4 separate regions of the Homo sapiens genome follow, and all the other regions are linked to region 3. Evidence: promoter capture Hi-C in 16 types of primary human blood cells and fetal thymus (Javierre and others, 2016). All regions are on one chromosome and are shown on one strand. The core of a region is centred on a gene start or on the middle of the fragment in contact, and the rest is flanking DNA. Distances in the headings are between cores, read along the strand shown.

Evidence for each region. The method cuts DNA at HindIII sites, captures the fragments that hold promoters and counts their contacts. A CHiCAGO score of 5 or more calls a contact.
Region 1: a fragment that was not itself captured here is called in contact with the fragment with the promoter of SPIC in region 3 in 2 of 17 cell types (M0 macrophages and M1 macrophages); the score reaches 5.7 in M0 macrophages.
Region 2: a contact is called between a fragment that was not itself captured here and the fragment with the promoter of SPIC in region 3, in 3 of 17 cell types (total B cells, monocytes and naive B cells). The highest score is 7.0, in total B cells.
Region 4: a contact is called between a fragment that was not itself captured here and the fragment with the promoter of SPIC in region 3, in 3 of 17 cell types (naive B cells, M0 macrophages and M1 macrophages). The highest score is 7.5, in naive B cells.

What each region holds. Positions count from the first base shown.
Region 1 is chr12:101,790,078-101,796,739 of GRCh38, reverse strand. It overlaps GNPTAB (N-acetylglucosamine-1-phosphate transferase subunits alpha and beta), which reads left to right. Exons shown (of 21, transcript NM_024312.5): 2 at 1-63. It also overlaps the pseudogene RNU6-172P. Among named protein-coding and RNA genes, the nearest start is that of GNPTAB, 38 kb to the left of the region's middle. The HindIII fragment of the contact is 1,061 bases long and covers 720-1,780 here.
Region 2 is chr12:101,840,935-101,847,429 of GRCh38, reverse strand. No RefSeq gene overlaps it. Among named protein-coding and RNA genes, the nearest start is that of GNPTAB, 13 kb to the right of the region's middle. The HindIII fragment of the contact is 459 bases long and covers 5,015-5,473 here.
Region 3 is chr12:101,470,403-101,476,615 of GRCh38, reverse strand. SPIC (Spi-C transcription factor) reads right to left here and starts at 1,280. Exons shown (of 6, transcript NM_152323.3): 1 at 1,114-1,280. It also overlaps the pseudogene RNA5SP367. RefSeq lists an enhancer at 1,940-2,635. The HindIII fragment of the contact is 10,024 bases long and covers 975-6,213 here.
Region 4 is chr12:101,764,775-101,769,730 of GRCh38, reverse strand. GNPTAB (N-acetylglucosamine-1-phosphate transferase subunits alpha and beta) reads left to right here. Exons shown (of 21, transcript NM_024312.5): 11 at 1,571-1,694; 12 at 3,437-3,640; 13 at 4,427-4,956. It also overlaps the pseudogene RNU6-101P. Among named protein-coding and RNA genes, the nearest start is that of SYCP3, 28 kb to the right of the region's middle. RefSeq lists a cis regulatory region at 2,145 and an enhancer at 2,061-2,230. The HindIII fragment of the contact is 1,514 bases long and covers 1,109-2,622 here.

The DNA of each region.
Region 1 (6,662 bases), core at 1-2,500, 320 kb before region 3:
TCAATACCATGTTTTGTTTGATTCCTATAGAGACAATATTGCTGGAAAGTCCTTTCAGAATCGGTAAGATCTATTTTGGAGAAATCTATTATTTGGACCTAAATCGTAAGTCATGAAATAGCCATCCTGTAAATATGACAGTTTAAGGGGTCTTTCTGAGTTATAGATATGGTTTAATTTACTCAGGAGTATGCCCATCTGATGTGTTCACTTTAGCAGCACATATACTAAAAAAAAGGAAAAAAAAACTGGAACGATACAGAGAAGATTAGTGTGGCCCCTGTGCAAGGGTGACACACCAATTCATGAAGTATTCCGTAAGATATTTTTTTAAAATAAGGAAAGAAAATATGTCCATCTGAAGAAAAGTGTGTTCACCACATTTTGTGGGTGAAAAATCTGATTCACAGAGAGTAATCCCACCTTGTAGTTTATTGGGTACCTTAAATTGCATGATTGCATTTTCTGTCTCCCCAGGTCTGTGAGGTAAAGGGAATTTCATCCCCCTGTAGGATGAGGAAACCAGGTGGCTACTACACAGCGGTTTCTGAGCCCTGGCCGGAATTCTGTTGACAGCGTCCTGTGAAATGGGACCACTCCCCAGTAAACCACTGGGGCTGAACCCCACTCCATTGGTCACTCTTGCTGCTTACCTATGAGGGAGGAGCAAATAGCCTCATACCTCATTAGTGTGGGTCTTTCCCTTGGAAGGCCAAGCTTCTTAGTGCCGCCATTCTGGAACGCAGTCTTCACCATTTCTTGTCTTTGGGGATTTTTTTTTTCCTCTTCACAAGACAGACCTCAGAATGGAAACAATTTTTTTCAACACCCTCCTTCCCTTTTTGCAGATAAAATGAATCACACAAGTCCTTTCTGGTTTTTGTTTCTGTCTTCTCACTATTTTTTTGGTTTATTTTAGAAAATGTAGTAATTTCATTATAAAAGGTGTTTATTTTATTTTATTTTATTTTTATTTTTATTTTTTTTTGGAGACAGAGTTGCACTCTTGCCCAGGCTGGAGCGCAGTGGCACGATTTCGGCTCACTGCAACCTCTGCCTCCTGGATTCAAGCGATTCTCCTGCCTCAGCCTCCCAAGTAGCTGGGATTACAGGCATGCACCACCACGCACAGCTAATTTTTGTATTTTTAGTAGAGACGGAATTTCGTCATGTTGTCCAGGCTGGTCTCAAACTCCTGACCTCAGGTGATCCACCCGCCTCGGCCTTCCAAAGTGCTGAGGTTACAGGCATGAATCACCGCTCTCGGCCTATTCTCATTTTAAAATGAATTAAGTATTTTTAAAATGTTTCAGTTTTATTTTCAAATATGGCAAATGTGGATAATTATAACCTTATAAACTAAAGCACTTTGGGGTCCATACTAATTTTTTAATTTTAAGGGACCAAACAGTAAAAGTTTGAGGACCATTCCTTAATATAGCAGTTCTGAAACTTTAGCTTGCAGTGGAGGGCTTAAGAAAATAACAGTTACTTCCCAGCCCAGAGTTTCTGCGTATAGGTTTCAGAGGGGTTCTGAGAATTTGCACTTCTACCAAACTTCCTGGTAATACCAAAGTTGCTGGTCTGGTGCCCCCACTGTGAAAACTACTGCATTAAAGGATTTTTAATGAAATATAATTTTCACTTTAACAAGTTAATTTCCCTAAGGAAAGTTCTAAATTGATTAACATTTTAAAATCAGATATTTATTGATTTGTGCCTTATGCTGTGCCACGTGCAGATGGTGCACAGATGCATAGATCCCTGCCCCGAAGAAGCTTCAAACGTTTTTAAAAATTTTTAAATTGATTTTAAAAATTAATTAATTATTTATTTTTAGAGATGAGGTCTTACTGTGTTGCCCAGGCTGGTCTCAAACTCCTGGACTCAAGCAATCCTCCCATCTTGACCTCCCAAAGTGCTGAGATTAAAGGGATGAGTCACCATGCCCAGCTGCTTTAAACTTTTAGAAAGAAAACTAGCTTATTAGAAAATGCAGATTTTGAGGTCAGCAGTTTTAATCAAACACTCTTGTTCTCTTTCTAAAGAAGTTTAGAAGGTTGCATTAAAATATAGTTTGATTTTTATGTAGGCATATATTCAAAATTTCCTCATTTTGATGATGACAAATAAATGGATCATATATAACATTTCACATGGTCTAATATATTTTAAGATACCATAACATTGATATATTTTCATTATTTTGCTAGTTTCTGTACAGATTTTTTATTTTTAAAATTTATTTATTTTAATAGAGATGGGGTCTTGCTGTATTGCCCAGGCTGGTCTCGAACTCCTGACTTCAAGCGATCCTCTTACCTCAGCCTCCCAAAGTGTTAAGATTACAGGTGTGAGCCACCATACCTGGCCAGTATAAATCTTTTTAAGGTTGTTTGCTCTGAATGAAAAAAATCCCATTCCATATGTCAGTAAAAGTGAATATATAAACTATTCACTGCTACTAATTGTGAGGCATTAAGTCAATCCGAGGCTCAATTTTGTCATCTGTAAAATGTGGATATTAGATTAAGAGCTATTGTATTAGATTAAGACTACAATCTCTTCCAACTCTTTGGTTCTAAAATACTATTGAAGGCCAGGCACGGTGGCTCACGCCTGTAATCCTAGCATTTTGGGAGGCCAAGGTGGGCACATCACATGAGGTCAGGAGTTCAAGACCAGCCTGGCCAACATAGTGAAACCCCGTCTCTACCAAAAATACAAAAATTAGCCAGGGCGGTGGTGGTTGCCTATAATCCCAGCTACTTGGGAGGCTGAGGCAGGGAGAATTGGTTGAACCTGGGAGGCATAGGTTGCAGTGAGCTGAGATGGCACCACTGCACTCCAGCCTGGGCGACAGAGCAAGACTCTATCTCTAAATAAGTAAATAAATAAATAAATAAATAAGTAAGACAAAATACTATTTAAGTTCTCTGTTTTCTCACCTACTTTATAGAATGTAGAACCAAGGGACTGTTAAGTGGCTTTAATATTCACTTAAACTAAACAGTGATTAAAATGAAAGTTATGTCAGTGTCATTGCTGCTTTGGTTCTGAGTTATGAGTGACTTAGTCTTAGTTTTCAGCTCCAAGATAATGCATTCCTTCTCATCTGTGAACCAAGATAGTGGTCTAGTGGTTAGAATGAAAGATTCAGAGTGTGACCATGTCTAATAGGAAAACAACTGACTCATTGACCTCGTGCAGATCACACAGTCTCCTTCCATTTGTCAGTTTTGCCAAAGTTAAATTGATCATGTAATACATGCAGTATATTATGTTTTAATCAGCTAAATAATATAATATAAATGATATATTAAAAATATTTAGTAGCAGGAAATATTTAGTTACAGGAAAGCTTAAGATGTAATTCTCCTCTCCTTTAACCTTTTCTTTTAAAAACACATCACTGAAGCAGTTTTTTAAAATTTATTTTTAGACTGAGCATAAATCACCTGGGAGGTTGGGAATGAGATGACCTTGGATAATTTACATGTGGGCAGTGTGAGGCAGATGGATTTTTTTTTAAATGAGAAAGACTGATATATATGATAAAGGAATGAACTAATAGTTAGGCAATAAATATGTATTAAACCCCACCCATGTAGGAGGAACTATTCTAGGCCCTAGGTATATAGTGGTGAACAAAATGAACTCATTGGCCTTATATAGAATTGGCATTTTAGTGGGGAAAAAAAGCGAAGTGTGTAACCTACATATAAATCAGTGGTTCCCAAAGTGCAATTTCTGGACCAGCAACATCAGCATTACCTGAGAGCTTGTGAGAAAAGGAAATTCTACAAACATTAGAATTTATTTATTGATAAATTCAGAAAAACCCTAGATAGGGAAACCTTTGCAAATCATTACAGTAGGGAGAGAGAGCCCGAAGGTGTAGGAAAGAGAGGAAATAATTAATGAAGCAGGGCACAGAATGCATGATAACATTTCTGCCCTAGAGATACTCCATCTAGTGGAAGATAGGGCTGCATGGAAAATAGCACAGCACAGTACAATCAGGATTCCTTACAGTTCAAAGTAGTGTGGAAGCTGCATATGAAGCTATAGATTCTCTTTGTGAGAGGTGAGGGAAGGGAGGGAATTGAGGAAGGAGGAGGTGGTTAAAGGAAGCATGAAAGAAAGAATGTTCTAGGCAGAAGGAAAAGCATATTCAAAGGTACAAAGTCCTGCAAGTTCGTTTCATCTTTGGACAAGGGTATACAATTGGATCATCCAGAACATAAGGTGCAGATTATGAAAGACTTTAGACCTTATTCTGCAGGCAGTGGTGAAACTTGACAAGACATTTGGTAAGTACTCAGCTATCACATATGCCAGAGAATAAGGTGATTCCTTATTTTCCAGATGAAGCTCTGGAACTCTGTTATCTCTTTGACCTTCATCTCAACTATTCTCTTCCATTTCCTCTCTCCCCTCTGCTCAGGGAACTCGCCTCTGGGTCCTTGAACAAGCAAGATAGGCGCCTGCCTCAGGGCATTTGCCTTTGGTGTTCCCTTTCTCTGGCACATTCTTCTCTCAGTTACCCACCTGGCTGGCTTCCTCACTTCCTTCATATCTTTGCTGAAATGTCACCTTCTTACTGAGGCCATCTCTGATCTCCCTATTTAAAACTGACCGCCCCGCCTCCCCATAGACACTCTTTCTATCCCCATTTGCTGCTTTACTTTCTCCACAACATTTAACATCATCTGACTTTATTTATTTGATTTACTTCCTGTCTTCTCCCTTCTGGAATGTAAGCTCCGTGAAGGCACAGATTTGGGCTTTGTTTTATTTACTGCTGAAACCCTAGCACCTAGAACAGTACCTAGCACATATTAAGCGCTCAATAAGAATTATTCAGTGAATGGAGAAACTCATCCAGTTATCTCCCCTACTTCTTGTAAGCTAAAGGTTGTTTCATTTCTGTTAATTTTTTTCTTTCCATAATTCAAAAGATTTAGCTACCAAATAGCATTTATTTTCCCACGAGATAATATGGTAGCAACTGAAAGTCTAGGCTGTGCCTGGGCTGTGAGGAGGACAAAAGGAGGGTATGCTTTGGTCCTTGGCCTAAAAATAAAACTGCAAAACCCATACAGTTTCTTGGAAAGTACTAAACTTGAAATAGCACTATCTAAAGAAAATTTGCCCAACCTGTGGGCCGTATGTGGCCAAGGACGGCTTTGAATGCGGCCCAACACAAATTTGTAAACTTCCTTAAAACATGATGAGATTTTTTTTTTTTTTGCGTGGTTTATTATTTTTTTTTTTTTGGCTCATCAACTATCTTTAGTGTTAGTGTATTTTATGTGTGGCCCAAGACAATTCTTCTCCCACTGTGGCCCAGGGAAGCCAAAAGATTGGACACTGCTGATCTAAAGTAGTATCAGTACCCAGATGTACACATGAACTCCTGTGTCATAAGTCAAAGTGGCATGCATCTGGGCAGGCCCCTGAAAGATGGGTAGGTTTTTGGTAGTGAGAGAAAAGGGAAGAGTGCTTTTGGCAGGGATAAAATCTGGGTAAAATCACTAAGGTGAGGCTTAAACAACATACTCAAGAATTAAAAGCCTGCCTGACTCTTTATTATGAGGACAAGATGATCAGGAAGAAATGGTGCAAGTTCAGGAAGGTCTTCTGTACTAGTGTCTCATATGTCAGCATATACTTATTGGTCACCTGTGTGCCAGGCACTCTTCTCATTGCACAGATACTTTAGAGAACAAAGCATGAAAGTTTTCTGCTTTCTTGGAGCTTACATTCTAGGAGAGGGCCACACATAATTAACGGAATAGGTTACAAGTTAATTATTTAATATGTTACAAAAGTAGTAAGTGCTGTGAAAAAAAAAAGGAAAAGCAGAGGTGAGGCTGGGGAGGGTGCAGGCTTGCGGGGGAGCAAGGCACAAGAAGGCTACAGCATTAAGTAGGGTTAGGTCTTCATTGTGGGTTTTGATAACTTTTTTTGTAATTTGTTCTTTTTTTTTTTTTTTTAGAGACAAGGCCTTGATCTGTCTCCCAGGCTGGAGTGCAGTGGTACGATCATAGCTCACTGTAGTCCCACCTCAGCCTTTTGAGTAGCTGGGACTACAGATGCACACCACCATACCCAGCTAATTTTAAAAATTTTTTGTAGAGACAGGTTCTCACTATGTTGCCCAGGCTGGTCTCAAACTCCTGGGCTCAAGTGATCCTCCCACCTTGGCCTCCCAAAGTGCTGTGGTTATAGGCGTGAGCCACTGTGCAGAGCCTGTAATTTTGTTCTTTAAACTTCTAATTTATTTTCTATGTTTGACGGCATTTGCATCCCAGCTCCCTTCTTTGCTAAATTATGAGAACAGGCAGTTTAATGTAAACTGAACTTCCAAGACTACTCTACTTCACCCACGAACAATCTTTAAATCTAATATTAGCCTTCTTACAGAGTGGCTGTGTGCATCAGGTGATGCAAATTACCTAAGTGTCTAGCATAATACAACTCACAGAGGAGGTACTTGACAAATATTAGCCCCCCAGCTACAGTTTGAAAACATGCAGTTCTGTGATAATATGTCATGGTTGGATTACTTCTTCAGAGATTTTTTTCATAATCTCTGGGTTTAAACCCTGTGATATTCTTATTACCAAATATATTGGAAAAATGCATTTAAGCTGGAG
Region 2 (6,495 bases), core at 3,995-6,494, 370 kb before region 3:
TAGAGCTACTCACTGTGACAACCAAAAATGCTCTTCCACATTTCCAAATGCCCAAGTGTTAAGAACCATAATCCACATGAAACTGGTGACTATGATTACTTCTATGCAGTTTCATTTGAGGGATCTAGGGGTAAGGGAAGGAAGTAGAAAAAGAGAATATTACTCGTGTTGTACTTGTAATAAAACAAATGCTTACACTTTTTTTAAAAAAGCAACTACATTACAGAAAATAATTGTCTGGAACAATACAATAGCTAACTCCTTAGGAGGGAGAACAAGGCCTTGGAGAGAAGGAAGTCTTTAACTTTTTACTCTATGCACTTTTAATTGCTTTTATTTTTATGAGTATGAATTGTTTTAGAATAATATAATTTTTTTTTCTAGGGATGGGGTCTCGCTATGTTGGCTAGGGTGGTCTCAAACTCCTGGCCTCAAGCAATCCTCCCACCTCAGCCTAGCACTCCCAAAGTACTAGGGTTTTTTTTTGTTTTCTTTTTGAGACGGAGTCACGCTCTGTGGCCCAGGCTGGAGTGCAGTGGCACCATCTCGGCTCACTGCAAGCTCCGCCTCCTGGGTTCACGCCATTCTCCTGCCTCAGCCTCCCAAGTAGCTGGGACTACAGGCACCTGCCACCACGCCCGGTTAATTTTTTGTATTTTTAGTAGAGATGGGGTTTCACTGTGTTAGCCAGGATGGTCTCAATCTCCTGACCTTGTGATCCACCCGCCTTGGCCTCCCAAAGTGCTAGGATTACAGGCGTGAGCCACCGCGCCCGGCCTCAAAGTACTAGGATTACAGACATGAGCCACCATGCCCAGCCAGAACAATATAACATTGAGGTCAGTTTACAAAAGACAAAACAAAGGTGAAACATTTACAGAGAAAACAAGCAGCAGGGAGAGCTATAGGAGATTTTGTCTTCTTTTACATGTTTTGTACTAAGAATATAATAGTTTAAGAAAATAAAACTAAACTTTAAAAACAAAAAGAATATTAAAATGCATTTCAATCATACATGAAAGCAAATATTTACTATTAGCAGTAGGTTTTTTTGATTCTCAACTATATTTATGTAAAATTTTTAGCCAGGTTCTGCGGCTCACGCCTGTAATCTCAACACTTTGGGAGTCCGAGGCAGGTGGATCACTTGAGGTCAGGAGTTCAAGACCAACCTGACCAGCATGATGAAACCCTGTCTCTACTAAAAATACAAAAATTAGCTGGGCATGGTGGCATGTGCCTGTAATCCCAGCTACTCAGGAGGCTGAGGCAGGAGAATCACTTGAGCCCGGGAGGCAGAGGTTGCCGTGAGCCGAGATCGTGCCACTGCACTCCAGCCTAGGTGACAGAGTGAGTGAGACCCTGCGGCTGGGCTGGGTGCAGCAGTTCACACTTGTAATCCCAGTGTTTTGGGAGGCTGAGGTGAACTCAGGGGTTTGAGACCAACCTGGGCAACACAGCAAAACCCCATCTCTATTTACCCTAAAATTAAAAAAAAAAAAGAAATTATTAAGTGCAGTGGCTCACACCTGTATTCCCAGCACTTTGGGAAGCTGAGATGGGGGATCACTTGAGGCCAGGATTTGAGACCAGCCTGGGCAACATACTGAGATCCCATCTCTCAAAAAAAATAAATAAATTTAATTAGCTGGGCATGGTTGTGCTTGCCTGTCATCCCAGCTACTCAGGAGGCTGAGGTGGGAGGATCACTTGAGCCCAGACCTCAAGGCTGCAGTGAGCTATGATTACACCACTGCACTCCAGCCCGAGTGACAGAGTGAGATCCTGAAAAGAAAGAAAGAGAGAGAGAGAGAGAAAGCAAGCAAGAAAGAAAGAATCTTCTTTAGAGTAACCCAGTCCACACAGAAAGTAATTCACTGGTCATTTCCACTAGAAAGAGATTAGTCTGACTAGCTGGTTATGATCTTATTGTAGTCTTGTTACTATGGTTACTGAAGTCGCAGTGATGTGCTTGCTGGTGTTGAACATCTTTGGAAGTTATCATTGTGGATGCTGCCACTTACTAGTGAAATGTGTTGACTCTGTTGCCATATTCTGTCATTTGGACAAGGAATTCAGGCAAGTTGTAGGCCCATGTCCACCGTGAACAGATCATTCATTTATTTATTTTACAAGCGTTGCTGAGTCCCTACCCTGACAGAATGCTGAGGGGCACAATGAGGATTTGAAGTATGAAGCACAGACCCTGCCCTGAAAATGCTCATTCAAGAGATAAGTACACACATGAGGATTTTAATTAAACCGTGATGTTAAGTACCATGAAATTGTGAAGTCTCACATTTATAGAGGATTCAACAGTCCAATCCTATGAGATGGGTAATGCCAAATAAGGGATAAGAATTTACTAACAGGAAAAAAAAAAATCCATGAAGGGAGTTGGAGTGATTTCTGAGGTTCCAGCTTAAGAGGCTGGGAGAGTAATGGTGCCATTGATGGAGGCACAGAAGTTAAAACAGGGAGATGATTTAGGCACAAAAGATGGTGAGGGCCGGACGTGGTGGCTCACGCCTATAATCCCAACACTGGGAGGCCGAGGCAGGCAGATCACTTGCAGTCAGGAGTTCAAGACCAGCCTAGCCAACATGATGAAACCCCATCTCTACTAAAAATACAAAAATTAGTCGGGTGTGGTGGTGTGTGCCTGTAATCCCAGCTACTCGGGTTGCTGAGGCAGGAGAATTGCTTCAACCTGGGAGGCAGGAGGCTGCAGTGAGCCGAGATCACACCACTGAACTCCAGCCTGGATGACAGAGAAAGACTCTGACTCAAAAAAAAAAAAACACGGTGAGATGGTGAGATGTTTGCTTTAGACCCCGAATGTATTGGCTAGTTTTCATTTGCTCCCAGATTCATTCCCATACCCTTTGCTGACCACATGGACGGTTTTACACAGACTCTCCTAACCTCTGGTTTCAACCAATGGGAGGCACCAGGAAGAGATCAAAGGGGTGTTTCTCTCCTGCCTAGCTGCATCCCTTCTCACAGTGCTGCATCCCTCCACTATGGTAGGGCCTGTCATTTAGTTTCCTTCCCACGGCTCCAGCTCTCACCATGCTTACATAACACCAGTTTCTTGATGACATCATCAGATATCTCACTGCCTTCTATAAAATTTCTTTTTTTCCCTCCTTCTTTTTTTTTTTTTTAGAGATGGAGTCTCACTGTGTCCCCCAGGCTGGAGTGCAGTGGCGCAATCTTGGCTCACTCCAGCCTGTGCCTCCCAGGTTCAGTAGATTCTCATGCCTCAGCCTCCTGAGTAGCTGGGACTACAAGCACCCACCACCACACCTGGCTAATCTAGAAATTTTCTTGAAGACATTATAGTTGCCATGAAATAAAATGTAGAAGTAAAGCAGAGGGCAGAGGTCTAGTCTATGTGAACTGAACCACCACCTAGAAACGGCAGGAGGTAGACTACAACCCAGAAAAGGAAGTCATCAAAGATCTTCCAGAAAAATCAGAAACGTATTCTGTCCTGGACACCAAAGTAAGACAACATTTCAAGAAAAGATTATTGAAGACATCCAATACTGCAGGAGGGTCAAGGAGAAGATAAACCAAAATATACTACTGGACTTGTTAGTTAGGATTCACTATATCCACTGCATTTCATTATTTCAGACGTTAGTTTTAATAGAAGCAGGAGTAGATGCCAGGTTGTTGAAGGTTAACCAAATTTAAAAAGTGGGCAGAGGGTTTGAAGAAGACTTTTCAGCAAAGAAAGCACACAAATGGCATGCACATATAGTGGCACTGTTCACCTATAATGAGTTTATTTTATTTTATTTATTTTGAGACAGGGTCTCACTCTGTTGCCCAGGCTGGATTACAATCTAGTGTCATGATCACAGCTCACTGCAGCCTCGACCTGCTGGGCTTAAGCAATCCTCCCACCTCAGCCTCCCAAGTAGCTGGGACTACAGGTGTGTGCCAACATGCCTAGCTAATTAAAAAAAATTTTTTTTTTGTAGAAATGGGTCTCACTATGTTGCCCAGGCTAGTCTGGAACTCCTGAGCTCAAATGATCCTCTCTCCTTGGCCTCCCAAAATACTGGGATTACAGATGTGAGTTACTGTACCCAGCTAATGGGTCAATTTTATAGAATCTTGTTTTGTGTGTGTATATGTGTGTGTGTGTGTGTGTTTCTTTGTTTGTTTTTTGAGACAAAGTCTTGCTCTGTAGCCCAGGCTGGAGTACGGTGGCACGATCTTGGCTCACTGCAAACTCTGCCTCTTGGGTTTAAGCTATTCTCCTGCCTCAGCCTTCTGAGAAGCTGGAATTACAGGCCCACGCCACAATGCCTGGCTAATTTTTTGTATTTTTTTTTACAGAGATGGGGTTTCACCATGTTGGCCTAGGTCTCAAACTCATGACTTTGTGATCCACCCGCCTTGGCCTCCCAAAGTGCTGGGATTACAGGCATGAGCCACCGCGCCTGGCCTAATTTTATAGGATCTTAATTATAATCTCAATAAAGTTAAATAGAGAATTTTCAAGGAAATTGAGGAAGAATAATTAAAGCAATATACATGATTGCTCAGCAGACAATGAGGCTTTGACCCATGATTTTTTGTTTATTTAACCTTATTTGAGAGAAATTTATCTTAATAAAAAAGCACGTTTCTAGAGGAGAATTCTCAAAATTAATTAGTGGTGAATCTGCATATTGTGTGACACGAAAATAAATCCAACAAGAATGACTTTACTTTGAATCTAGGTTAATATGATGTAAGATGTGAAAATGGTAAAACCAGTCCTGCCTTATCTCATTTACAATTTTAATGTTGCTGCTTTAAACTAAGAATCCAAAGAATATATAGGCCTTGGAAAGGAATAGGGCTGTCCACATTGGAAGGGACTTATAATGTAGCTTTTAGAATCTTTTTGTTTTACGTGCACCTCATAGCAGAGCAATTGAGATAAACCTGCAGCTGGTTCGAACTTGATGACAGAAGAAAAGACAACAGAAAATCTTTTTCCTTTTCATAAGCTTCTCTCTATTCACACTAACCCTAATAATTATTCACCCTTCTTTTGGTATAATCTAGGGGTTCTTGCCACATTCATTTATTCGTTCCTTTAGCCTAAAATGTCAGAAGCACCAGTTATTACTCTTTCACTGTGATATTTATACTTTGGATAAATTAACTCTGAAATTTCCTTGTTGGTTGGCATCACTTGGACTTTTACTGTGCTCCTGGGATTGGTTACAGTGAGTTTAATACATCTAGAGCACTGCCAAAGCATTATAGCAAAATATCAGAGTATCCCTGACAGTATTCTGGAAAGCAGACTATGCAAAATGCAAAAGTCTCCCTATTTAATTATGAACTTGACATTGCAATGAATTAGAGAATCAGCATTTATGGATAATCAAATATATATATTGAGTGCTCACTGCTTTGGGTGTTTTGTTTGCTTGTTTGTTTGTTTCCGGTGGGGTTGGAAGCTTTGGTTTTAAGGAGATGAAAACTAAAGAAAGTTCCAAATGCTTGGAGATCAGAAAATTGATCCAGTTTTCAAACACCAGGTACAAAGATGAGGGTAGGAGTTAGCTTTTGCAAATAGGTAGATTCTGCAAAGTACATCACAGTGGACTTCATATTGATCCTGAGGTTTGTGAGAACTTAAACAGGGAAGAAATTAGGAACTAAGGGGGAGACAGGAGAGACAAGACAGACAGAAAAATACACAGAGGGAATTTTCTTTCTTTCTTTCTTTCTCTCTTTCTTTCTTTTTTTTTGAGACAAAGTCTCACTCTGTTGCCCAGGCTGGAGTGCAGTGGCCTGATCTCGGCTCACTGCAAGCTCTGCCTCCTGGGGTTCACGCCATTCTCCTGCCTCAGCCTCCCGAGTAGCTGGGACTACAGGCGCCTGCCACCACACCCGGCTAATTTTTTGTATTTTTAGTAGAGACGGGGTTTCACCATGTTAGCCAGGATGGTCTCCATCTCCTGACCTCGTGATCCGCCCACCTTGGCCTCCCAAAGTGCTGGGATTATAGGCGTGAAACACTGAGCCCAGCCTCTTTGTTTCTTTCTCTCTCTCTTTCTTTCTTTCTCTCTCTCTCGCTCTCTCTTTTTCTTTTTCTTTCTTTCTTTCTTCTTTCTTTCTTTTCTTTCTTTCTTTCTTTTTCTTTCTTTCCCCCTCTCTCTCCCTTCCTTCCTTTCTTCCTCCTTTCCTTCTTTTCTTTTCTTTTGTCTTACTCTTTTGCCCAGGATGGAGTGCAGTGGTGCTATCACAACTCATTGTAACCTCAAACTTCTCAGCTCAAGTGATCCTCCCTCCTCAGCCTCCCAAGTAGCTAGAACTACAAGTCTGTACCACCACACCTAGCTAATTTAATTTTTTTTTTTTTTGAGATGGAGTCTCACTCTTATCACCCAGGCTAGAGTACAATGGCACAATCTCGACTCACTGCAACCTCCCCCTCCCGGGTTCAAGCGATTCTCAAGCCTCAGCCTCCTGAGTAGC
Region 3 (6,213 bases), core at 31-2,530:
AAATAGCTATATATTTAATTATCTGAGCTGCTTGATTGATAAGAGAAAGTGGAAATAACTCAAAAGTATATATAAGTATTTCAAAATTATTTTAAATATTCTAAAATTCTGAAAATCAAAATCCTTTTTACCTTAGCATAGCTTTATAAAAATAGGGCTTTTTTAAAAAACCTTTCTTTGGTGTTATATTGCCTTCTGAGAATCTGGCAAAAGCCATCCTTTTCCTCCCATGAAAATTGGACTTATATTGCAAATAAAATTTAGCCTGTGAAGACTATCCTTGGACTTGCTTGAATCCTAGGCTAAGAAAACTCGTCTATAATTTTGTTATTTACTTTCTTATCTCTAAGTAATTCTGATTTTGCTTTAGAGAAACAATTATCACACCGACCCACAATTAAATGCTTTTAACTCTACGTTCTATAGACCAACACAGGGAACAAACAAACAAAAACCAACCCACATAATAAAAAGAACTGTGGTGGGTCCAAAATTGCTTATCATTCCATTAAGTAAACCCAGCAGTTCTTTTTATGCAAGTATTTATCTTCTTAGTATTTACCCGCAAACACAATGTGTTTACTCTTTAGTGTTTAACTTTGAATAATAAAATGAGATGATGTAATCTAATGCCAATATTATATATATCCATCATATATCAACATAACATATTAAATATCAAAATTCTGCTTGGCTCTTTGAAATCATTACATCATGTCAGTTAAAAGAAAATAGAAGAAAATCCAGAAATCACTCTTCGGCTCATGGTCTTTAGTGAATATTATCAGTAGCACATATTTTTTAAAAGCCATGTCAGTGATTTTCAATTAACTGCTTTGACTCAAAAGTGCAGAAGCACTGAATGTTGTATTTTGAATTAAATATTTAAAAATGAACATGTTCTCTTTGACTAAAATGCTCCACAAGACTATCGCAGCTATTACAAGTAGCAAATCTAAAAGGAAGAAAAAGCTTGAAAACATTATTGATTACTATGATTGCTTAATATTTCTTGCATCTGAACACGCAGACAGTGAGAAACACTCATTAGGCCAAAGGAAAAAATGAACAGTGATTAGAAGATATTTAGAAAAACATAAGCTGAGAACTTACCGGGAAGACACTTCAACCCTTTATAGAGATGTTTCATTAATATCAGAACGGTAAATTCAACGGTAGGCTATCATGAAAATAAAAAATTATTTTCCAGTGCAATGGCTCTGATGAAAAAAAATAGTAATATTTTTTTTAAAAATTAGAATTGTTAAGACATAACCATCAAGAACATACTGGCAGAGTTGCATTAAATAGCTGTTTTTAAGGAAGTTCTTCAAAAGGGGATTTTTTTTAAAAGATACAGTGCCTTCACAATTTCTATTTCATGATATGATTAGTAGACACCAGGGGCTATTATTTTGAAGAGGCACATAGTAGTTTGCATCCCATCAGCCAAAAAGCAAAAAAGCATTAGAACAAGCCCCATGAATCCCCCGCCCAACTTAGGTTGCAGCTCTTCAGATTGCATAGCCCCACCGGAAACTTCTAACCCAGGCAACTCAGGCCCACCCTTCTTTTTTTAATTCATATTACTTCTCTCCCAATTCTGGACTCTATACTCTCTTTCTTGCCTGGACTGTCAACAGCCTTCACTCTGGACTCTCCAAATCGGTCTTTCCTCCTAAACTACTTTACTTACACTGCCATTCACTGATCGCCTTAGAGAGCTTAAAGGCTTAGGGCCCTTGTCCTGACATTCAAGGCTCTTGAGCCTTAGCCTTATATCTTGCCACTCAGTTGAGTGGGGATAATAGAATCCATGCTCTTGCTTTCCTCCACACCTAAATTCAGTAGCGGCTCCAAAATGGTTAGGAAAACCTTATGGGGGGCCATGTGGTTGGACATACCTGAGGCTGCTGCATTCCTAATGCAGGTCCCGTTCTCTTACTTGGCTTCAAGGTTTATTTGGGGTGGCTCTGTTGGAAATTATGAGACGCTCCCTCCACCTAAAATACTTTCCTCCCAGTTCATCCCCCTGCAGATTCGCCCATTTTATGTTACCTGTCCATCAGTGTCCAAAGCAGCATCCACTTGTACACGGTGGAAATAACCTTCCTGTCCCCTGAAACACATGTCTGCCTCTCACTTGGCTAACCTGAAACCTGCCATTTTAATAGCTGTCACATTTTGGCCAGGGGGAAAACCGCCTAAGAATTTTTTGTAAACCTTGTGGGTGGGGAGAGTGAAGAGGGTCTGTGATTTCAAAGCTGCCAGTAACTTCAGTTTTGCATTGTTGGAGCCTAACCTCACCTTTGATAGGGGACTATTGTTTTGGACCAATTACTTTTTTGAGCCAATTTGTTATGCAAATGTTAACACACAGTCCTTCTTCTGATATGCAGATCTTATAATAACAGGTATAAAACGGTAATCACTAATGTTGATTTGTTTTTAATCTGTACTAGTCTACACCCTTTTCAAGCCACCTTATTTGGTTCATTCGTTCAACATATTACTGAGCTCTTCACTCTTCTGGGCACTGCCCCATGTCCAGGAGCTACAGCCCTGAACAAATCCTTATGAGAAGAAATGATTTTTAAAAAATAAACACATTGGTAAAGTATTAGATAAGAAGTGTCAAAAACAACAATACAAAAGAGAAAGATTATGAAGACAGTGTGCGAATAGCCAGGAAAAATCTCTGAGGAGGAAAGCGGTGTGAGCTGAAACCCAAGAAGAAGACTTAAGAGTGAGCAGGCGGGCAGGGTGTCTGGTGCCTATATCCCCGCTAAGCAGCTACACAGGAGGATGGCTTGAGGCCAGGAGTTTGAGACCAGCCTGGACAGCACAGTGAAACCCCCAAGAAAAATGGAGTGCCTCCCCACCCTGCCTCAGAAAAATGAAGGAGTGAGCAAAACAAAAAGCAGAGATGCAAATATTTGGAGGAGCACCTCCTGGCAGAGGAAGCAGCAGGTGCAAAGAGCCTGGGATGGAAATGAGTTTGGCATTCAAGACACAGAAAAAAAGCGGGAGGAGGAGAGGAGGCTGCAGGAAAATGCACCTGGGGGCTAAGAGGCAAAGTTGGAGAAGAAAGAGGCAGGATCCAGATCAACATACACATCAAGCCCTAAAATAATCACAAGTCATGTATGGCAGTCGTTATCTGTGTACCCCCATGTCACAGATGAGGAATCTAAACTGAAGTTCAAAGATGTTTTGTGATTTTCCCTAAGGTTCAACTTCTAGTGAGGTGGGCTGGGCCAGATCCAAATTTGGGTTAATTCCACTTCATGTGCACGCTCTCAGCCCTGGAGACCTGTGTGTGCAGTTGAGGCTGCCTTCGACCAGGTGCTCAGTCCCAACGGCAAACTCCACAGCACCCAGCCCATGCTTGTCACATATTAATACTACAGGTGTGGTGAGTATTTGAAATGAATGTAAACACAGTGAACTTTTTTTTTTTTTTGAGACAGAGTCTCCCTCAGTCCCCTAGGCTGGAGTGCAATCGCATGATCTTGGCTCACTGCAACTTCCACCTCCTGGGTTCAAGCGATTCTCCTGCCTCAGCCTGCCGAGTAACTGGGATTACAGGCCACCACCACATCCAGCTAATTTTTGTATTTTTAGTAGAGACGGGGTTTCACCATATTGGCCAGGCTGTAATCCCAGCTACTCAGGCTGGTTAATTTTTGTATTTTTAGTAGAGATGGGGTTTCACCATGTTGGCCAGGCTGGTCTTGAACTCCTGACCTCAGGTGATCCACCCGCCTTGGCCTCCCAAAGTGCTGGGATTACAGGCCTGAGCCACTACACCCAGCCTGAACTTTCTTTTTTTTTAATTTTTAATTTTTATTTTTATTTCCAAGATGGAGTCTCTGTCACCCAGGCTGGAGTTCAGTGACGTGATCTCGGCTCACTGCAACCTCTGCCTGCCGGGTTCAAGTGATTCTCCTGCCTCAGCCTCCTGAGTAGCTGGGATTACAGGCCCACGCCATCGCACAGGGTTAATTTTTGCATTTTTAGTAGAGATGGGGTTTCACCATGTTGGCCAGGCTGGTCTCAAACTCGTGACCTCAGGTGATATGCCTGCCTCGGCCTCCCAAATTGCTGGGATTACAGGCATGAACCACCACGCCTGGACTATTTTTTTTTTAATGTAAATAAATTAAAACCCTGATATTTCTAGGTGGGATCTCATCCAAGTACTAAACTGGCCCTACACGCCTTGGTGTCTAAAATCGGAAGAGGTCAGGCCTGTTCAAGGTGTTATGGCCATAAAAAAGTGATTTTTTTTTTTTTTTTTTTTGAGAGTGAGCCTTGCTCTATCGCCCAGGCTGGAGTGCAGTGGCACCATATCAGCTTAATGCAACCTCCACCTCCTGGGTTTAAGCAATTCTCATGCCTCAGCCTCCCAAGTAGCTGTGATTACAGGCGCCTGCCACCATGCCTGGCTAATTTTTCTATTTTTAGTAGAGATGGGGTTTCACCATGTTGGCCAGGCTGATCTCAAACTCCTTACTTAGCTCAAGTGATCTTCCAGCCTCGGCCTCCTAAAGTGCTACGATTACAGGCATGATTCACCGTGACCGGCCAACAAGTAAACTTTCTAAGCTAGCATTTCCCCAACTATTGTCTCTAGAGTTTGATTATGCAGGATATTAATAAATGAACCTGGCAAAAGTGTTGAGTGGAAGCTAGGGTTGCTGCCTAGAACTTCCTTAGTGAAGTCAATGAGTGTGTTGATTTTTTTTTTTTTTTTTTTTTTGAGGTAGGGTCTCACTCTGTCACTCAGGCTGGAGTGCAGTGGTGCAATCATAGCTCACTAAAGCCTCAACCTCTTAGGCTCAAGTGATCCTCCTGCCTCAACCTCCCAAGTAGCTGGGACTGCAGGCAGGCACCACCATGCCGAGCTAATTTTTACATTTTTTGTAGAGATGGGGTCTCACCATGTTGCCCAGGTTGGTCTCGAACTCCTGGGCTTAAGCCATCCTCCTGCCTCGGCCTCCCAAAGTACTGGGAATACAGGTGTGAGACACTGCATACGGCCTGTTGGAGATATATGTATATATATACAACCCTACGTTACAGATGCAAAAACAGAAATGCAGCTTTAGGGTTCTCTGTAGGGCTAAGATGTGAAGTTGTTTTGGCATCTTGAAAAGTTAATGCAATAGACTTTTAGCATTTTAGAAGTCAAAACTCCTATCTCTTGAGAATCTGATGAAAGCTGGCAGTTATTTTCCCAGGAAAATGCCATCAGCACACATTTTCAGGCAAACCCTCCCAGTAGGGCCAGTGAACTCCAATTTGGGAGCCCCTGCAGTATTTATTTAATATATGGACACCAATGTTTCCCTCAACTCCAGAAATGAGCTGAGTAACAAGCTAAGGGCTCTGAAGAGAGGATCCCTGATTGACAGATTCACTTTTGCAGAAGTTCATTGTCCTCAGTGGCAATGGAGATTATTTTAGAAAATCTTAAGCAACACATGTGCTGGCGTACAAATCATATGGTGACACGCTTCAGGTGGAAGACTGTGTTTTCTGAGAATAGGGAACTGCAGAACCCAAAAAGGGAGATCAAGTTCAAGCTCTTATCATTCCTCACAAATTCTTCTTCAATAATTCAGTTGTTGAAGTGACTAAAGAATTTGGTCTTAATCTTGGCAAGATCTTTGGAAACTCCAATAAGCAAATAATAAAGATTGTTAGCAGACTGGGGAGAAGGTGCTAGAAAACTCCTCATGTTTGGCTGGGTGCGGTGGCTCACACCTATAATCTCATTACTTTGGGTGGCTAAAGTGAGAGGATCGCTTGAGGCCAGGAGTTCAAGACCAGCCTGGTCAACATAGTGAGACCCCCATCTCAATTATTTTTTTAAAAAAAGAAAGGAAGCCTGGGCACGCTGGCTCATGCCTGTAATCAATCCCAGCACTTTGGGAGGCCAAGGCGGGAGTTCGAGACCAGCCTGACCAACATGGAGAAACCCCGTCTCTACTAAAAATACAAAATTGGTAGGGCGTGGTGGCGGGTGCCTGTAATCCCAGCTACTCAGGAGGCTGAGGCAGGAGAATTGCTTGAACCCAGGAGGTGGAGGTTGCGGTGAGCCTAGATCACGCCATTGCACTCCAGCCTGGGCTACAAGAGCGAGACTCCGTTTCAAAAAACAAAAACAAAAAGCAAAACAAAGAGCGAAACTCCATCTCAAAAAAAAAA
Region 4 (4,956 bases), core at 616-3,115, 290 kb before region 3:
GAGTAGGGGGTCACTGGCCAAGATGGGAAGATTGCTTTAGCCTGAATGTTGAGGCTGCAGTGAGCTGTGATTGTGCCACTGCACCCCAGCTTGGGTGACAGAGTGAGAACCGGATCTTGAAAAATAAAAAAATATATATAGATATATGAGATCAAATAATCATTTTTGAGTGCTAAGCTCAGAAATCAGCAATTAAGAAGTAAGAACACTACAGTTAGAAATTTGCTTTCCTGCATTCTTAGACACCCAGGACCCACACTTTTTCCCAACCATCTCAATTTTCTACTACGATAGCAGAAAAAGCAAAATCACTGTGAAACAGACAATCATGGTTAGAATATCAGCAAAATGGCCAAAATAGAAAGTTAACTCAAGTTAGTGCTTAAAGCTATAGATGTAATTTCATTTAAGGTAGCCTGTTGCACTCTAACTTTGTGAGAGGTGGGATGGAGAAGTGGTTAAGAGTACAGACTTAGGGGCCAACTCTTCAGGATGACCTTGGGCAGTGGCTCTACCTCTGTGTTTTCTGGCATAGTGAGGAAAGTACAAATACCCTTGTAGCGTTGTTAGAAGGGTTCAGTGATAAGTTAGAGACTTATCACCGTAAACTTAGAAGTTATAAAACTCTGCAACTGTAAGTGCTAATAACACAAAACTACTTTGTCTGTAATTGTTTATGCTACCCAACCAGGCCCATTCTCCTGTTCCCCTATTGAGTTGTCTCCTCTGTATCAGACTGTAGGGCTCAAAGTTGAGCTTGTGGCTTAACAAGGGGACAAACAAGATCAATGACTGTGTGGTGCTTTTCCTGCTGACAGGTGTGCCTTGGTGCTGAGGAGTGTGAGCAAAGGAGGCTTAAATCAGATAGGATAGGGAAGAAAGCCCATCTGAATTGACATGTACTGAGAAGAACAAGTAAGAATTAGTTTAGGTTAAAAAAGACATTCCAATTAGAATATGCAAAGGCACAGAGATTTTTAAAGAGGAGTGTATTTTTTTTCAATGATTTTAAATTTGAAAAACCATGTACCCCATCACTAATTCTGAGAGCAGGTGAATGCACAGCTCAGAATGCTATGCCAGTTAATTTATCACAGGGCCTTAAGCTTGAAGAGAGAGGATATTGTCTCTCAGCCTTGAGACAAGATTATGCACAAATACACTAATGAGCTACTGATAGTTACAGAAAAGCAGTGACTGTGCATACTTCCCACCAGCTTTGACATGCTTTGGTACTTGCAGTCAAGTCTGGCATGGTGCTACTTTATTTCATAGTAGATTATCAAAGCATGTTATGAGAGACTAATCCATGAGTTGAATCCTTGTCTGCTTTCCTTGAGTAATGGAAAAAAAGTAAATACGCTCAGTAAGAACGGTCAACGCAGCAGGATCTAAACAATGACTGTAGGTACAGGCAAACTTAAAGCACTTGTGAGTGTGAACGCTGAGCCCTTTGAAAATTTTAATCTTTCTAGAGACTTAATTTCTTTTTATAAAGGGAATCTTAACTCAAGAATAAAATGTATCAGAAGCCAGAAGTCATTTTATTTTCTCTTTGGTTTTATCGTAGGTTTATTTGACATGGCCTGTGCCAAACTGTGCCGAGGGCTGCCCAGGTTCCTGGATTAAGGATGGCTATTGTGACAAGGCTTGTAATAATTCAGCCTGCGATTGGGATGGTGGGGATTGCTCTGGTAAGGATGTGTTAAACTGTAATTCGTTCATTTTTATGGAATATTTTCTTCTTAATCATTATTGAACATGTGCTATAGACTTAACCAAACATTCTTTATGTATTAATAAAGAATCAGTAATGCTGGGCATGGTGGCTCATGCTTATAATCCAGTGCTTTGCAAAGCTGAGCTGGGAGGAGTGCTTGAGGCCAGGAGTTCAAGACCAGCTTGGGCAACATAGTAAGACCCCATCTCTATCAAAAAAAATTAGCCAAGTGTGGTGGTGCAAACCTGTAGTCCTAGCTACTTGGGAGGCTAAGGCAAGAGGATCATTTGAGCCTAGGAGTTAGAGGCTGCTGTGAGCTGTGATTGCACCATTGTACTCTAACCTGGGCGGCAGAGTGACAGCCTCTCTCAAAACAAACAAATCAGTAATCAATGGACTCTTTGGAGGTGGTAATTAGTGCCCTCATGTGGCCCAGTTTATTCATTGTTGAGGGCATTGAACAAGAGAAAATACACTTGAAAATGTCTTCTTATTTAAAATATGAAAATCTGGAATACACTTATATAAATCCAAGAGCAAGAATCACTCTAACTGGTTCTTATAGGAGCTCACTGCTGGTAGCTTTCAGCAGCAGATTGTGATAGGTCACAGAATTACTAAAGAGTTGCAAAAGAAATAAGTATTTTCTCTCCTCAGCAGCTCTTCCCTCTCCCTCACATAGTTATATTTTGACTTGTTGATAATAGCAATTTGTTACATTTACTTACTACCTTTCAATTTATAAAGCATTAAATTTATAGAGCATTATTCATTATATTCACTTGAATTGTGTTTGTTACCTGAGAGAGAGAGAGAGTAAGTATGTACACAAATGTTATCATCCCCATTTCCATATGAAGAAATGGATTTGGAAATGTTTGAATATTGGAGAAAACAAAGCTTCAAGTTGTATTTCAGTCAGATATGTCAGATGCGCTTTAGCTGAGGAGAGAGAATACAGATGTGCAAAGTAGATCTGTGTAGACCAGAGAAGTCAGTCTCTACTGGAACATTAGCATTTGATAACAAGGGGTATCAAACATGTTACCCACGTTTGGACATGTTTTTGGCAGTTCTGATAGTCACAGTCTTTGGAATAATCTCTTCTTGTTTTCGTGCTCCTCCATTTCTGTCAGCACGTGCCCCTTGAGCAAATGTAAGCCCTGTACTTGTAGGTTGCACAGCTACAAAATGCCAGGGCCTGTTCATCACGCTTCTGTCAAGTGACTCCCTTTTACGTTTATTTTCTTCTTAAGGTATATGAGATCTTCTACTAAAGAATGAGGTGAACCTTTTCTGACTAAAACTTACACATCAACCTTGAAAACATCAATATGAAATAAGGAACTGTCTTTTTCGTTTTTTGTTTTTTGAGACGGAGTTTCACTCTTGTTGCCCAGGCTGGAGTGCAGTGGTGTAATCTTGGCTCAGTGCAACCTCCGCCTCCCGGGTTCAAGCAATTCTCCTGCCTCAGCCTCCCAAGTAGTTGGGATTACAGGCGCCCACCACCACGCCCAGCTAATTTTTGTGTTTTTAGCAGAGATGGGGTTTTACCATGTTGGCCAGGCTGGTCTCAAACTCCTGACCTCAGGTGATCCAGCCTCCTCTGCCTCCCAAAGTGTTGAGATTACAGGCGTCAGCCACCACACCCAGTCCAGAACTGTCTTTCAAAATTGTAATTACAGCAAGAATCCCTCTTCTTCCTCCGATCTACAGGAAACAGTGGAGGGAGTCGCTATATTGCAGGAGGTGGAGGTACTGGGAGTATTGGAGTTGGACAGCCCTGGCAGTTTGGTGGAGGAATAAACAGTGTCTCTTACTGTAATCAGGGATGTGCGAATTCCTGGCTCGCTGATAAGTTCTGTGACCAAGCATGCAATGTCTTGTCCTGTGGGTTTGATGCTGGCGACTGTGGGCAAGGTATGTTTACTGCCAAACAAATAAGAATGGGAGCATAAAACATCCTTGACAGGTAGAGAGAGTTTTGAATGGCTTTTGTTATTTAAAATAATGATTCTCTGTGTATCCCTTTACCAGCCTTGCATTCAAACTAGTTATGAAAGTAAGAGAACAACATAAATCACTGAAGAGGATCTTTTCCTGTTATTGTTGCAGTCTGGTGTTTTGTTTTGTTTTGTTTTGTTTGGACCAAGCAGATTTACCTTAGCTGAAAATATGTGGTGAAGTTTTAATTTGGAAACAAAAAAGGATATCAATAATTCATTAAATAAAGATGGTTCAAACACTGGATTTTGTTGATAGCGTATTAATGGAGTTTGTTTTGGCAGAAAGTTTTTTTCAAATGGATAAAAAGATGGAAATTGATTATTGTAATTTATTGTTAAGAACCATGCCATATCTCTATAGTGAGTCAGGATCACTATTTCATGGTAATTATTGTGACTGCCTCAGATAGTGAAATAAGCCCTATACCAGTAACTGTTGTATTAGGATATCTGATTATTTTGAAATTAAAGTCACTCTTAGAAAGTGAAAACTCAGTGCCTACTTCAGCAGCACATATACTAAAATTAGAACAGTTTAGGCATTAGCATGGCCCCTGCACAAGGACGACATGCAAATTCATGATGCATTCCCTATTATTTTTTTTAAAAGAAAGTGAAAACTCAGACTCAAAGAATTAAAGGAAAACAGAGGAAAAATGCCCAGTTAAAAAAAAAATCATGTTTCTGTTTTTTCCTCTAGATCATTTTCATGAATTGTATAAAGTGATCCTTCTCCCAAACCAGACTCACTATATTATTCCAAAAGGTGAATGCCTGCCTTATTTCAGCTTTGCAGAAGTAGCCAAAAGAGGAGTTGAAGGTGCCTATAGTGACAATCCAATAATTCGACATGCTTCTATTGCCAACAAGTGGAAAACCATCCACCTCATAATGCACAGTGGAATGAATGCCACCACAATACATTTTAATCTCACGTTTCAAAATACAAACGATGAAGAGTTCAAAATGCAGATAACAGTGGAGGTGGACACAAGGGAGGGACCAAAACTGAATTCTACAGCCCAGAAGGGTTACGAAAATTTAGTTAGTCCCATAACACTTCTTCCAGAGGCGGAAATCCTTTTTGAGGATATTCCCAAAGAAAAACGCTTCCCGAAGTTTAAGAGACATGATGTTAACTCAACAAGGAGAGCCCAGGAAGAGGTGAAAATTCCCCTGGTAAATATTTCACTCCTTCCAAAAGACGCCCAGTTGAGTCTCAATACCTTG